Regions from separate parts of the Homo sapiens genome. Here all the other regions are linked to region 1. The links are contacts of gene promoters, found by promoter capture Hi-C in blood cells and fetal thymus (Javierre and others, 2016). All regions are on one chromosome and are shown on one strand. Each heading gives the region's core, a stretch centred on a gene start or on the middle of the fragment in contact. The rest is flanking DNA. Distances are from core to core; before and after follow the strand shown.

What was found. The method cuts DNA at HindIII sites, captures the fragments that hold promoters and counts their contacts. A CHiCAGO score of 5 or more calls a contact.
Region 2: a contact is called between a fragment that was not itself captured here and the fragment with the promoter of IL17F in region 1, in 6 of 17 cell types (activated CD4 T cells, total B cells, non-activated CD4 T cells and 3 more). The highest score is 6.9, in activated CD4 T cells.
Region 3: a fragment that was not itself captured here is called in contact with the fragment with the promoter of IL17F in region 1 in 1 of 17 cell types (naive CD8 T cells); the score reaches 5.3 in naive CD8 T cells.
Region 4: a fragment that was not itself captured here is called in contact with the fragment with the promoter of IL17F in region 1 in 3 of 17 cell types (total CD4 T cells, naive CD8 T cells and total CD8 T cells); the score reaches 5.9 in total CD4 T cells.
Region 5: a contact is called between a fragment that was not itself captured here and the fragment with the promoter of IL17F in region 1, in 3 of 17 cell types (naive CD8 T cells, activated CD4 T cells and total CD4 T cells). The highest score is 5.9, in naive CD8 T cells.

What each region holds. Positions count from the first base shown.
Region 1 is chr6:52,243,100-52,245,799 of GRCh38, forward strand. It overlaps IL17F (interleukin 17F), which reads right to left and starts at 1,401. Exons shown (of 3, transcript NM_052872.4): 1 at 1,298-1,401. The coding sequence starts at 1,330. The HindIII fragment of the contact is 13,260 bases long and covers 1-2,700 here.
Region 2 is chr6:52,698,836-52,701,535 of GRCh38, forward strand. No RefSeq gene overlaps it. Among named protein-coding and RNA genes, the nearest start is that of TMEM14A, 29 kb to the left of the region's middle. The HindIII fragment of the contact is 238 bases long and covers 1,225-1,462 here.
Region 3 is chr6:52,636,308-52,639,007 of GRCh38, forward strand. No RefSeq gene overlaps it. Among named protein-coding and RNA genes, the nearest start is that of TMEM14A, 33 kb to the right of the region's middle. The HindIII fragment of the contact is 6,545 bases long and covers 1-2,700 here.
Region 4 is chr6:52,618,998-52,621,697 of GRCh38, forward strand. No RefSeq gene overlaps it. Among named protein-coding and RNA genes, the nearest start is that of TRAM2-AS1, 43 kb to the left of the region's middle. The HindIII fragment of the contact is 3,333 bases long and covers 1-2,700 here.
Region 5 is chr6:52,653,337-52,656,036 of GRCh38, forward strand. No RefSeq gene overlaps it. Among named protein-coding and RNA genes, the nearest start is that of TMEM14A, 16 kb to the right of the region's middle. The HindIII fragment of the contact is 525 bases long and covers 1,003-1,527 here.

The DNA of each region.
Region 1 (2,700 bases), core at 151-2,650:
GCACTTTGCTGAGCTACATGTAATCTTTAAAATAACACATAAATATAAAATAAAACATACCATTGCTATATGCCATGAACCTTTTATGATATTCAAGCTCTTTTAAGTTGTATGGCTTGTAAAAGGAGAAAAAAAGGAAATTATCTAAGCCAATAATATGATGCGGGATTTCCTAACCCCTGTTTTCATGTACCTCTATAGTAAATTCTTCTCAGGCCTTATCTGACTAATGTCAGGCAAGATTCCAGACCTGCTGGGGCTAGATTTTCATTGCATTAACATCTCTCTTTCCTCCAAGAAGAATGAGATGGTACAAAATAAATAAATAGCAATCAGAGACATGGGAAATTTCCCTTCTCTAGGAGCTGTCCAAAGTCAACACTGGGTGATTTCATTTCTTCCATCCAGGGCACTCCTGTAATCTCAGGGGAATCATTAAACCTCTTGAGGCCCCAGTTTCCTTGGTTAAAATGTATATGTACATAATCCCTAAAGTGCTGGCCAAGCTCCCACCATGAGATAAGAATTTCAGGCCAACCTGACTCTATAATGGATGGCCACAGGAAAGAACATGCTAGTTGTCTGTGATGCCAAGGACTGCACACACTAACACCACCTGGGCACACACTAACACCACCTGGGCAAAAGCCATTGGGTGAGGAGCTGCATTTTTTTTTCTTTGAGACAGAGTCTCGCTATGTCACCCAGGATGGAGTGCAGTGGCGTGATCTTGGCTCATTGCAACCTCCGCCTCCCAGGTTCAAGCCATTCTCCTGCCTCAGCCTCCCGAGTAGCTGGGATTACAGGCAACTGACCCATGCCCAGCTAATTTTTGTATTTTTAGTAGAGACAGGGTTTCAAGTTAGTCAGGCTGGTCTCAAACCCCTGACCTCAAGTGATCCACCCACCTCAGCCTCTCAAAGTGCTGGGATTACAGGCGTGAGCCACCAGGCTCGACCTAATTTCTGTATTTTTAGTAGAGACCGGGTTTCGCTATGTTGGTCAGGCTGGTCTCGAACTCCTGAACTCATGTGACCCGCCCGCCTTGGCCTCCTAAAGTGCTGGGATTACAGGCATGAGCCACCACGCCTGGCCAGGAGCTGCATTTTTATGCCATTATAACTTTTCTAGTTATTTTTTTCTTTTTCTCCACCAGACAGGAGTCAAAATTAAAGTCATCTCTGTTTTTTAAGAAGTAATTCCAAAAAGACCCCAATCAAACCTAATTCCTTAGGATTCTGTTTTCTGAAATCCTAGGCATGACAGTCCTTAAACCAGAATGATTGCTGCTACTCACCATGGCTGGGCCATGCAGGGTCTTCACTGTCATGTTGCGCTGGTGGCTTACTTTGTGCAGGAAGCTCTTTCTGTGAATGTATCTTCCTGTGTATGCCTGTGTTCTATCAATGAGAGTACCTGTTAGTTTTATAGCAATCATTGCCCCTGTTTCGATTGACCTGCTTACTGTCTTTAAGTTGTGGTTGACCCGGAGTTACTGACGAATGCAGGGGTTTTTTTTTTTATTCCATTTCCCGAAGGGGAACAAAAGGGGGACCCTAAAGAAAGGGATGACAGGAAAAGGACCAAATTTTTCTTTCCTTCTACCCTACTTCCACCCCCATTGCCCACAAATCAGAGCAAAATTTTTAATTTACTACAGAGATGAACCAAGTTAGAAATTGTTGTCAAATCTTTTTTGTTCTTCCACAAATTGCCAACACCCTTGTCACGGACCATATGTTCTACTTTCCAGTCACGCAATATGAATCGTGATTTAAATGGGAGAAAACTCATCCTTAGAGGAGCCTTGGTACTAAACTATCTTTACCTCCATTTTATGAATGGGAAAACAAAACTAAAGAAATGAATGACATAAGTGAAAAATTCAGAAATGATATACCCTGGTAGTTTTGTTATCTCCCTGAACTAATTATTTTTTAACCCCATGGTTAGACTCCTACTGGTGCTTAATAAATAATCACTATTCATTGTGTTGATAAAACAAACTGTTTTCCTCTGCTCTCACACCACAACCAGCAACACAAAAGATTTCCATGACCATGTATGTGGGCATTTATCTCCATCAACCAGCAAGCAATCAATTCTGCATCCAACGCCAGCTAAGCATCTTCTAATCCAATTCAATTCTGACGCTATCTCCAGGTAGGTAGAGTCAGATCCCACAGGCTGAAGGCTCAGTCCCACAAAACTGCTCCCACTTTAAGCACCAATCACAGGTCCAAGCCTCTGGGACTTCTGACTGACTGGCCTCAAGTTCAGGTTCCCACAAACCGCTTGAGTTTGATTAGGCTTGATTAATTTGTTAGAACAGCTCACAAAACTTAGGGAACACTAATTTATATTTACCAGTATATTCTAAAGGATATTTTTAAGGATACAAGTCAACAGCCAGATGAAAAGGTACACAGGGCAAGGTTTGAAAGGGTCACAAGCACAGAAGTGTTCTTTCCCATGGAGCTGGGGTGCACCACCCTCCCAGCACAGGGATGAGTTACTGTTTACCTTTCTTAGAACTTCCACAAGTTCAGCGGTCCAAAGGCTCTTTGTATCCCATCCTCTTGGGCCTTTTATGGAGTCTTCATTGGGCAGACATGATTACAACATGGAAAACTGTAAACAAATGTGATTGGATAAAAAGGGTATAACCTGATATTAACAGGTTGAATGAGGAAATTCAGC
Region 2 (2,700 bases), core at 94-2,593, 460 kb after region 1:
CCCTTGGGTGGTGTTTGTTACCCCTTATTCCTAGTGCTAAAGAACAGGCAAATATTTGATTGTCTCATTACATACCTTCTCTTTAAGCCAAAGAGGCTTAGACATAGGAATTAAGTTGCAGCTAATCTTAGAAGTTACTTGGTAACAATCTAATAATAAAACAAAATTAACTTAAAAGATCCTTTGTTGCATATTTAAAGAAACATAAATCAAGCTATCTTTTCTTACCACTCACAAGAGTTTTTAATCAGTGTTATTGTTAGATTGTTACCAATTAACTTCTGGATACTTTCGCTTTAAAATACATTTACCAATTAAATGTGTGCATTTTGTATAGCATAATTTTAACATAAAATTGAAATACAATTAGTTTTCCTGTATTATTAATATTTTCTAGCATAGAGATGTAAAAACCCAACAAAAACTGGAAAATATTATTTTTCCCAGATTGTATTCTATCCGTTTTACAATAAAAAATAATTTGAAATGTTAAATTTTACAATTTGGAGTAATAAAAAATATTCAGAGAAGATGCTAATACATAGCTTCCTGGTCATAATTCCTAAGTACTTAATGTTAAATAGTGTTAAACCTTGATGTCCTATCACTCTCATTCCTATACCTGAAGACCAGCATTAACTTCAACTCTCAAACACAAGAGTAAGAGACATTTCAGTCTCAGGGAATTCTGCCATTTTTATAAGACAAAGAAGATGGATGTAAAGCTCTCTTCCCCTTATTTATTTAAAAATATTTTCAATATTATTGCAGAAGTGCTAAAACTCATTGTAGAAAAATTAGAAAATACGGATAAAAATTTTCAGCCACCCATATTGGCCTTTCTCTAAAAATGAGCAGATGTTTAGTAGACATATTATTTTCCTTATGACTATGTCTTAATGAACAGAAATGTGGCATTCAGAAGTAGAAATTGGATGCTTACTAAATTTAAAAATAATCTGTATGCAAGGGTAGAGTGTGAGTGTGAATATGGGGAGGGAGTTCGTCTTTATCCCCTCTGCTCTTTGTTTTTGCAAAATAAGTTCTCTCTGGGTCTGCTTTACAATCCCCAGTACTAGATGTTTTCTCTTCACTACCTTCGATGCTCCAAAACACTTCCATGTTTCAGAGAGTTGGTGGGTCTCTTTCTCTCTCTCATATTTTCACCAGGAAAAAAGGAAAGGCAGCAGCTGACATTATAATATTGGAGCTCTTCTTAACCAAAGCTTCCTTTGGATGCTTAGGAAGCCTAGAGAGGTCAAGTGACTTGCCTAAAGTCTTTCAGCTAAATGGTAGAAGAACCAGAGCTAGGTTGCCCTCTCACCAAGCCTACTACATCTTCAATATTATCATCTTGGTAAATGTGTAATTTTATGTAAATAATTATTATAAAAGGAAGTCATCATATTCCAAAGTTAACAAATATGAGAATATGGACAGTGATTACCAAGGTATAAAACAAAGCTTTCCAAAAAGCAGCATTTTTTTCCTAAACATGCTTTACTTTACTTATTTTTTCCTAAGCACTATTTACTTACAACTTACAATATTTATGAAGTGTGATGAAAAATGCATACATTTGTGATTTCAGTTTCTCCTACAATTTTTCATGTCAGGAACTCTGAGGTAACTTAGGCTATCTGATCCGGCGAGTCTCCAAGAATCAGAGAGGCAGAGCTCAATCTCCAATTCCAACAAGGGCTTTACCAGGGTAAGCCCTGAGAGGAGGTGGGCAGACCGCGGGAGGGTGGCAGGTTGGAGGGAGAGGTAGGGTTGTGGGAAATAGGAGGCAGTCCAGCCTGCTGGCATTCACAGTTCTAGGTCTGGACATGAAACTATATGGGGTACATCCAGATTTCTCAGACTAGATACTATCTGAAGAATTTTCTGCTACGTTTTGATTGAGTTTCGCCGGATCACACCAAAGAGGTTTCGCTCCTGAACTTTTAAAAATCTTCAATTTTATCTTTTGCTTAAAGGCTAATTGTGTGAGGAGCTGTGTTAGGTACAGCAGGGGCTCCAAAGACAAGCAAAGCACAGCCATTTCAGCAAAATTGTAAATCTTAGAGCATAATTATTAAACTTTTGAAAATTTACTCTGACTCATAACACAAGGAAATTTCAGGCACAGGAGGTGGCTATTGGCTACGGTCATGTGCTACATAATATTTCAGTCAACCATGGACTGCTTATACAATGAGATTATAATACTATATTTTTACTGTAACTTTTCTATGTTTAGATACACAAATACTTTTTTTTTTTTTGAGACACAGTTTCACTCTTGTTGCCCAGGCTGGAGTGCAATGGCATGATCTTGGCTCACTGCAACCTCCGCCTCTCGGGTTCAAGCAATTCTCCTGCCTCAGCCTCCCAAGTAACTGAGATTACAGGAATGCGCCATCATGCCCAGCTAATTTTGTATTTTTAGTAGAGACAGGGTTTCTCCATGTTGGTCAGGCTGGTCTCAAACTCCCAAACTCAGGTGATCCACCCACCTCAACCTCCCAAAGTCCTGGAATTACAGGTGTGAGCCACCTCAACCGGCCTCACAAATACTTATTATTGCATTACAGTTTCCTACAGTATTCACTACAGTAACATGCTGTTCAGGTTTGTAGCCTAATAGTAATAGACTGTACCATAAAGCCCAGGTGTGTAGCAGTCTTTACATCCGGGTTTGGGAGAATAACCTCTATG
Region 3 (2,700 bases), core at 155-2,654, 390 kb after region 1:
GCCTGTCATCAGTCCATCCGTCCCTCCACCCTCAACCCCAAGTTTTTGTGACTGTATTTGCATTCTTACTATAGTTCGTATTTACATTTTTATGTCTGGCTTCTTTCACTCGTCAGAATGGTTTTGCATGCATGTTGCATTTATCAGTAGTTTGTCTCCTTTTCATTGCTAAGTAGCATTCCATTGTACAGCTAGACAGTACATTTTGTTTATCCACTCACCAAGTGAAAGGCATTTGGGTAGTTTCCAGTTTGGGTAATTGTGAATAAAGCTACAATGAACACTCATGTTTTTAAAAATGATGGCACAGAAGAATATTTAGTGATAGGGAAAGATGTTCATGACCAATTGAATTGTTAAATGAAAAAGGTTACAAAATGAACCCTTTTTTGTAATAAATATATTGGCATAAATAAGTAAATACACAGAAAAAGTCCAAGACGTTAATGAAGGTTATGGCTGGGTGTTGAGATTATATGATTTTTAAGTTAAAAAACGAAGTGGGCAAAAGAGTTGAACATGCACTTCACAAAGGAAGATGTGCCAATAAGCACATGAAAAAGCACTCAAAATCACTAGGCATCAACGAAATGAAAATTAAAGCACAATGAGATACCACTACTCATAGCAACAAATATGGGCAAGGATGTGGAGCAATGAGCACTCTCATCCATTACCGGTGGGGATGTAGAATTGTGCAAGCACTTTGAAAACTGGCCTGGCAGTTTTTCATAAAGTTAAACATGCACCTACTCTATGACCTGGCAAATGCACTTCTAGGTATTTACTCAGGAGAAATGAAAACATCTGGAAACAGAGAAGACTTGTACATGAATGTCCATAGCAGCTTTATTCATAATACTGAATACTCCAAGAAGAAAATTAGATTTCAAAAAATGTTTTTCTTTTCTCTTTTCTCTTTTCCCAGCCTTGGCCTCAACAAAAATAGCAACAAACTAGAAACAACCCAAATGTCCATCAGCAGGGGAATGAATAAACAACATGGATATTTACATACAGCAGAGTTCTGCTCGGAGATAACAAAAACACAATAGCTCCTGATACATACGACACATGGATAGGCCTCAGTATTGCTATACCGAGTGAAAGGAAGTCAGGCACAAAAGGGTACATATTGTAAGATTCCATTTATATGAAGTTCTGAAACAGGCAAATGCAATCTATTGCAAAAGAAATCAGGACAGTGGTTTCAAGTGGGGCAGGGAGTGGACAGAGATTGACTGGGATGGCATGATGGAAATTTTGGGAGTTATGGCAATATTCTATATCTTAATGGGATGTGGGTTATACAGATGTATGCAACTGTTGAAACTTGTCCAACTGTATATTTAAGACCTGTCGTTTCACTATATAAAAATTATACTTCAACAAAAATAAGGAAAATTAAAAAGAAACAAAATCTAAATCTTTTTATTATGAAAGTTTTCAAGCACACAAAAAAGTAGAACGTATACTGTACTGAGCACTCAGTCATATTTGAGTAATCACTTGCTAGCTTCAGTTATTGGTAATAAATTGCTTAAGACATAGGTCCCAACAGTTCCCTACATGTTTGTGAGCCAAGAATGATTGAATGTTCACTTTCTAATGAAAGGCCTTTCTTCTCCCCTTGACAGGTCTCATGATTTGGTAGCATTTTCTTGCCTTCTCAGGGATTTCAATGGAATATCAGAATTTGACTCATTGAGATCTATTGAATAAATTTGGTCATTTTTAAATATCAGCGGGGCGTCATCTTTTAGGGCTTTTCCACTAGTAAACATTGCCTTTTAGAAGAAGATACCCAGGACTAATTATTTATTCTAAAATAATCTCAATATTTTTGCTATTTCACCAAGCAAAGAATTACAGCGATAGTTTATACTAATACTTCTCTGCATCATGTTTTAGAAGATAAATGAATAGAGAGAACGAGGCAGATTTAGGTTAGAATACTGTTTTTACCAATTGTTTTCTATGTGACTCTGAATAAGTTTCTTTTCTTTTGTTTTTCTTTCTTTTTTTTTTCTTTTTTTTTGAGATGGAGTTTCACTCTTGCTGCCCAGGCTGGAGTGCAATGGTGCGATCCCAGCTCACCGCAACCTCTGCCTCCCAGGCTCAAGTGATTCTACTGCCTCAGCCTCCTGAGTAGCTGGGATTACAGGCATGTGCCACCATGGCCGGCTAGTTTTGTATTTTTAGTAGAGGCGGGGTTTCTCCATGTTGGTCAGGCTGGTCTTGAACTCCCAATCTCAGGTGATCTGCCCGCCTCGGCCTCCCAAAGTGCTAGTATGTCCAGAATTGGTTCCTTCAGGTGGGTTCTTGGTCTCGCTGACTTCAAGAATGAAGCCGCGGACCCTCGCCGTGAGTCTTACAGTTCTTAAAGATGGTGTGTCCGAAATTTGTTCGTTCAGATGTTCAGATGTGTCCGGAGTTTTTTCCTTCTGGTGGGTTCGTGACTTCAGGAGTGAAGCCACAGACCTTCGCAGTGAGTGTTACAGCTTTTAAAGGTAGTGCGGACCCAAAGAGTGAGCAGCAGCAAGATTTATTGTGAAGACCAAAAGAACAAAACTTTCACAGTGTCGAAGGGGACCTGAGTGGGTTGCCGCTGCTGGCTCGGGTGTCCAGCTTTTATTCCCTTATTTGGCCCCACCCATGTCCTGCTGAATGGTCCACTTTACAGAGCGCTGGTTGGTCCAC
Region 4 (2,700 bases), core at 11-2,510, 380 kb after region 1:
GGAAGAATAGACTGAAGAGAAACATCAAGATTTTTTTTCTTGTTCTACTATATGTTAAAATGAACTATTATACGTAAAATTGTAGCACAGAGCTTCAATTTTAAAAATTTTGTGGTATCAATACAATAGTCAAAATAGGAATTAATGTAAAAGAATAAGTCTAAAACAGATAATCTATATACCTCTCTCTATATATGTGAATGAAATATCACAATCCAATGATGGAAGAAAGGATTATCAGTAGGTGATTTTTTTTTTTTTTGAGATGGAGTATTACTCTGTCACCCAGGTTGGAGTGCAGTGGGGTGATCTCAGCTCACGGCAACCTCTGCCTCCGGGGTTCCAGCTATTCTCCTGCCTCAGCCTCCTGAGTAGCAGGGATTACAGGTGCATGCCACCACACCAAGCTAATTTTTGTATCTTTAGTAGAGACGAGGGTTTCACCATTGTTAGCCAGGCTGGTTTTGAACTCCTGATCTCAGGTGATCCACCCACCTTGGCCTCCCAAAGTGCTGGGATTATAGGCATGAGCCACCGCGCCCAGCCAATAGATGATATATATATGTTTTTTATACTTTAAGTTTTAGGGTACATGCGCACAACGTGCAGGTTACACATAGGCATGGGCAAGGACTTCATGTCTAAAATACCAAAAGCAATGGCAACAAAAGCCAAAATTGACAAATGGGATGTAATTAAGCTAAAGAGCTTCTGCACAGCAAAAGAAACTACCATCAGAGTGAACAATAGATGATATTTTTAAACAAAAGATTATATGAAAACAACAACTAAGCCAAACTTAATTTCAGTGTTTTGACTTCACAATTTCCATACATCTTTGTATCCATTGAAGTTCAGAAAAAAATTTCTGTATAAACATAAGATATATATTTTTATTTGAAAATGTAGATTAAGATATTAATATTTATAGAGAGGAATATTCTAAGCATAAACAAAGAAAGAGGTCATGAAAGAAAATATTATATTTCGAGCATGGAAAAAAGTAAAACTGATTCACGGGGCTTCTGAGTTCTACAATTGCAGGGGAAGGATGGGAACTCCTGGAGCCTCCATACGTCTTGCTTCTGTAGATCAAAACCCAGCATCATCCCAATTAAATAGAGGCACTTCCTCAACATACATGACAAAGAGATTTAGACAGAGTGGTTACTTATCACACAGCAGATCACCTCCCTCCTCTATTCAGATCCTTTCAGTAGCTTTCATCACACTCCAAGTAGAAGCCGAAGTCTTTCCAGTGGCCTCAAAGCCCTATGGCCACCTCTTGGACCTTGTCTCTTTCTACACTTTTCCTTAATGACTCCACTCCAGCCACACTGACCATTGTACCTGCAACCCATCAGGCACACTCCTGTTCCTGGGCCTTTGTTTTTGCTGCTCCTTCTGCCTTAAGGCCCTCTCCACTTTCTTCAACCCTCTCTGTTTCTTTTTCAGCAGGGCTGCCTCTTCCCTGGCACTTGCTTTATTTTCCTCCATACTACTAATCCCCACTGACACTATATGTTTACTCATTCCTCTGTTTTTTGTCTCCCTGCCTCTGGAATGTAAGTTTGAGACAGAGTCTACTTTGATCACTCCTATATTTCCAGCATCTAGGGCAATGTCTGCATATGGTATTCAGTATTTATTGTTAAATGATTGAATAAATATACTTATTAATTAGTACTTTGATTTCCAAGTAACAGAGAACCATTTGAACTAAAGTTGAAATTAGCTAAGGGTGGAGAGGGAGCTGGACCATAGAACCAGGGACTGGAGTGTTATAAGCATCTGAGGTTATTCTCTTTCTCTGTTTTCCACTTCATACTTGCCTCTCTCCATAGAACCCCATCTCTGTTTCTCAGAGCACATGGTGAACAAAGGGCCCCAGCAGCACTCAAGTTTTACCACAACTGGTCCAGTTACCTGGGGAAGAAATAACCTAATTCTGTTGATTCTCATTTCAAGTCCCTGGGGAGGCTGTGAATGACAGTCTGGACTGATGCCCATCCAGGAGCAATTGACTGTGGTCAGGGTGAAGGTAGGGGTGGGAATTTCATTGTGATCCTATGGCTGCCCCTCTGCAACCATGCATAGAGGGGAGGGCAATTCCTAACAAGGGGTATTAGGCAGGCAAGCCAATAGGCATCTACTATAACATAAAATTAACTCTTTCAGTTCAATTATAAAAAAATGCCAAAACCTAACTTAAAATTGGAAAAGATAAGAACAGATAGTTTGCCAAAAAGGAAATACAAATTGTTCAATACATTTTAAAAAGTAGGTTGGGCATGGTGGCTCATGCCTGCAATCTCAGAACTTTGGGAAGCCACTCAGGAAGATTGTTTGAGGCAAGGAGTTCTCCAACTATAACAGCCTAGGTGATATAGTGAGATCCTGTCTCAAAAATTAAAAAAAAAAATAGCTTGGCATGTTGGTGTGTGTCTGTAATCCTAGCTACTCCGGAGGCCAAGGCTGGAGGACTGCTTGTGCCCAGGAGTCTGAGGCTGCAGTGAACTATAATAGTGCCATTGCATTCCAGCCTGGGTGACAGGGTGAGACACTGTCTCTAAAAATAAAAAAAATAAAGTGTTTGATCTTATTTATCATTCAAAAATACTTTATGAGGTGGTGGTGTACTATAAAGTATTGTGATACTGGCATAAACACAGACATGTAGACCAACAGAACAGAATAGAG
Region 5 (2,700 bases), core at 15-2,514, 410 kb after region 1:
CATCACTTGACTGACCAGGAACATCTATGTGCAATTGCACAAGTGAGCAATAAACTATCCTCCTGTTAAACCACTGAGATTTCATACTTTGTTTTTTAATACATTATAGCCCAGCTTATTTGACTAACAGTTTCTCCATCTCTTTATCAAGAGCATGAATAGCCTTCCTCCAAAGTCTTTCCCAGCTCCATAAATCCAACTTATTCTAAGGAGGCCCTCTCCAGTCAGCTGGCTCCTTCCTGGTGCCTTGCTCAGGCTTCTTGGGATCTGTCCTGCCTATGTTCTTCCTCTCCAGGATAGTTCTATATCTTACCTTGGAGAAGGATCATGACACCAGAGGCACTCAGGATTGGATAGATCCTCAAAGCTCACCTAGTCTACCTTACTTTGTAGTGCCTGAGTCACCTCTGCAACATCCCTGCCAAGTGGTGGTCCAGGGTCTGGTTATTGAAAACCTCCAGTACCCGGAAACTCATTGCTTCGCCATATAAAAGTTCCTTCTTTCTCTACATTCTAAAAAGCACACTGCACTGCCCATAATGACTAACCCCCGTGGACTGCACCTAAGTTCTCCCTATTTTATTTTTTAAATGAATAAGTAGGGACTCCATTTAAATGAATGAATAGTAATTGCACTTGAGATATCTGAGCCTTTTTCTGACCTCTTCCTATTATGGTGACATTTTTTTTTCTTTACACAATGGCTGTGTCTTTGATGAATTTGTGTAGCCTGTATATGAGTTCAGAAATTATCCTTATGTCCATCAACTCCATGTGCCCTCTAGCAGAGAGCCCTTTCTTTGAGAAGATCTTGTCTGTAATGTCAAGGACAAAGTCTGATAATAAGTCATAGCTGTCCTGCAGTTCAAATCTTTGGAATCTTTAAGTCTCTATATGTCCACAGGGAATCTCTAAAACCACAAACATCTTTAAAAGGTCAATACAATGAAAGAAGAAAACAAAAATGAATATCCTTATCTGGCTGGAAAGTTTTAACGTGAAAGCTTTTTGTAGTGAGGGACTCTCTGATATAGAGGCTATTCAGTTCATAATGCTGGATAATCAAACCCAAAACTACAAAAGGAAAAATTGACCAATTTGACACATCAAAATTTCAAATTTTACCTTGCAAAAGACTGCTGAGAGCATGAAAATACAGACTGGAAGAAAACATTTGCAAACCACATATGACAAAGGACTAGTGTTTAGAATATATAAAGAACTCCCAAAACTAAACAGTAAGAGAAAAAATTCCAGTTAGAAAATGGGCAAAAGACATTAATATAGTTTGGATATTTTCTTCCACGCAAATCCCATGTTGAAATGTAATTCCCAATGCTGGAAGTGGGGTCTGGTAGGAGGTGTTTGGGTCATGGGGGCACATCCCTCATGGCTTGGTGCTGTCTTCATGACAGTAAGTTCCCATGAGATCTGGTCATTTAAAAGGTATGTTGCACCTCCCCCACCTTGCTCCTGCTTTTGCCATGTGAAGCGGCTGCTCCTGCTTTGCCTTCCACCATGAATGTAAGCTTCCTGAGGCCTCGCTAGAAGCTGATGCCAGAGCTATGCTTCCTGTACAGCCTGTAGAACCGTGAGCCAATTAAACCTCTAAATTACCCAGTCTCAGGTATTTCTTTCTTTTTTTTTTTTTTTAATTTTCATTTTTATTTTTATTGATCATTCTTGGGTGTTTCTCACAGAGGGGGATTTGGCAGGGTCATAGGACTATAGTGGAGGGAAGGTCAGCAGATAAACAAGTGAACAAAGGTCTCTGGTTTTCCTAGGCAGAGGACCCTGAGGCCTTCCGCAGTGTTTGTGTCCCTGGGTACTTGAGATTAGGGAGTGGTGATGACTCTTAACGAGCATGCTGCCTTCAAGCATCTGTTTAACAAAGCACATCTTGCACCGCCCTTAATCCATTTAACCCTGAGTGGACACAGCACATGTTTCAGAGAGCACAGGGTTGGGGGGTAAGGTCACAGATCAACAGGATAAGAATTTTTCTTAGTACAGAACAAAGTGAAAAGTCTCCCATGTCTACTTCTTTCCACACAGACACCGCAACCATCCGATTTCTCAATCTTTTCCCCACCTTTCCGCCCTTTCTATTCCACAAAACCGCCATTGTCATCATGGCCCGTTCTCAATGAGCTGTTGGGTACACCTCCCAGACGGGGTGGTGGCCGGGCAGAGGCGCTCCTCACTTCCCAGTAGGGGCGGCCGGGCAGAGGCGCCCCTCACATCCCGGACGGGACGGCTGGCCGGGCAGGGGGCTGACCCCCCCCACCTCCCTCCCGGACGGGGCGGCTGGCCGGGCGGGGGGCTGACCCCCCCACCTCCCTCCCGGACGGGGCGGCTGGCCGGGCGGGGGGGCTGACCCCCTCACCTCCCTCCCGGATGGGGCGGCTGGCGGGGCAGGGGGCTGACCCCCCCCACCTCCCTCCCGGACGGGGTGGCTGGCCGGGCAGAGGGGCTCCTCACTTCCCAGTAGGGGCGGCCGGGCAGAGGCGCCCCTCACCTCCCGGACGAGGCGGCTGGCCGGGCGGGGGGCTGACCCCCCCACTTCCCTCCCGGACGGGGCGGCTGGCCGGGCAGAGGGGCTCCTCACTTCCCAGTAGGGGCGGCCGGGCAGAGGCGCCCCTCACCTCCCGGACGGGGCGGCTGGCCTGGCGGGGGGCTGACCCCCACCTCCCTCCCGGA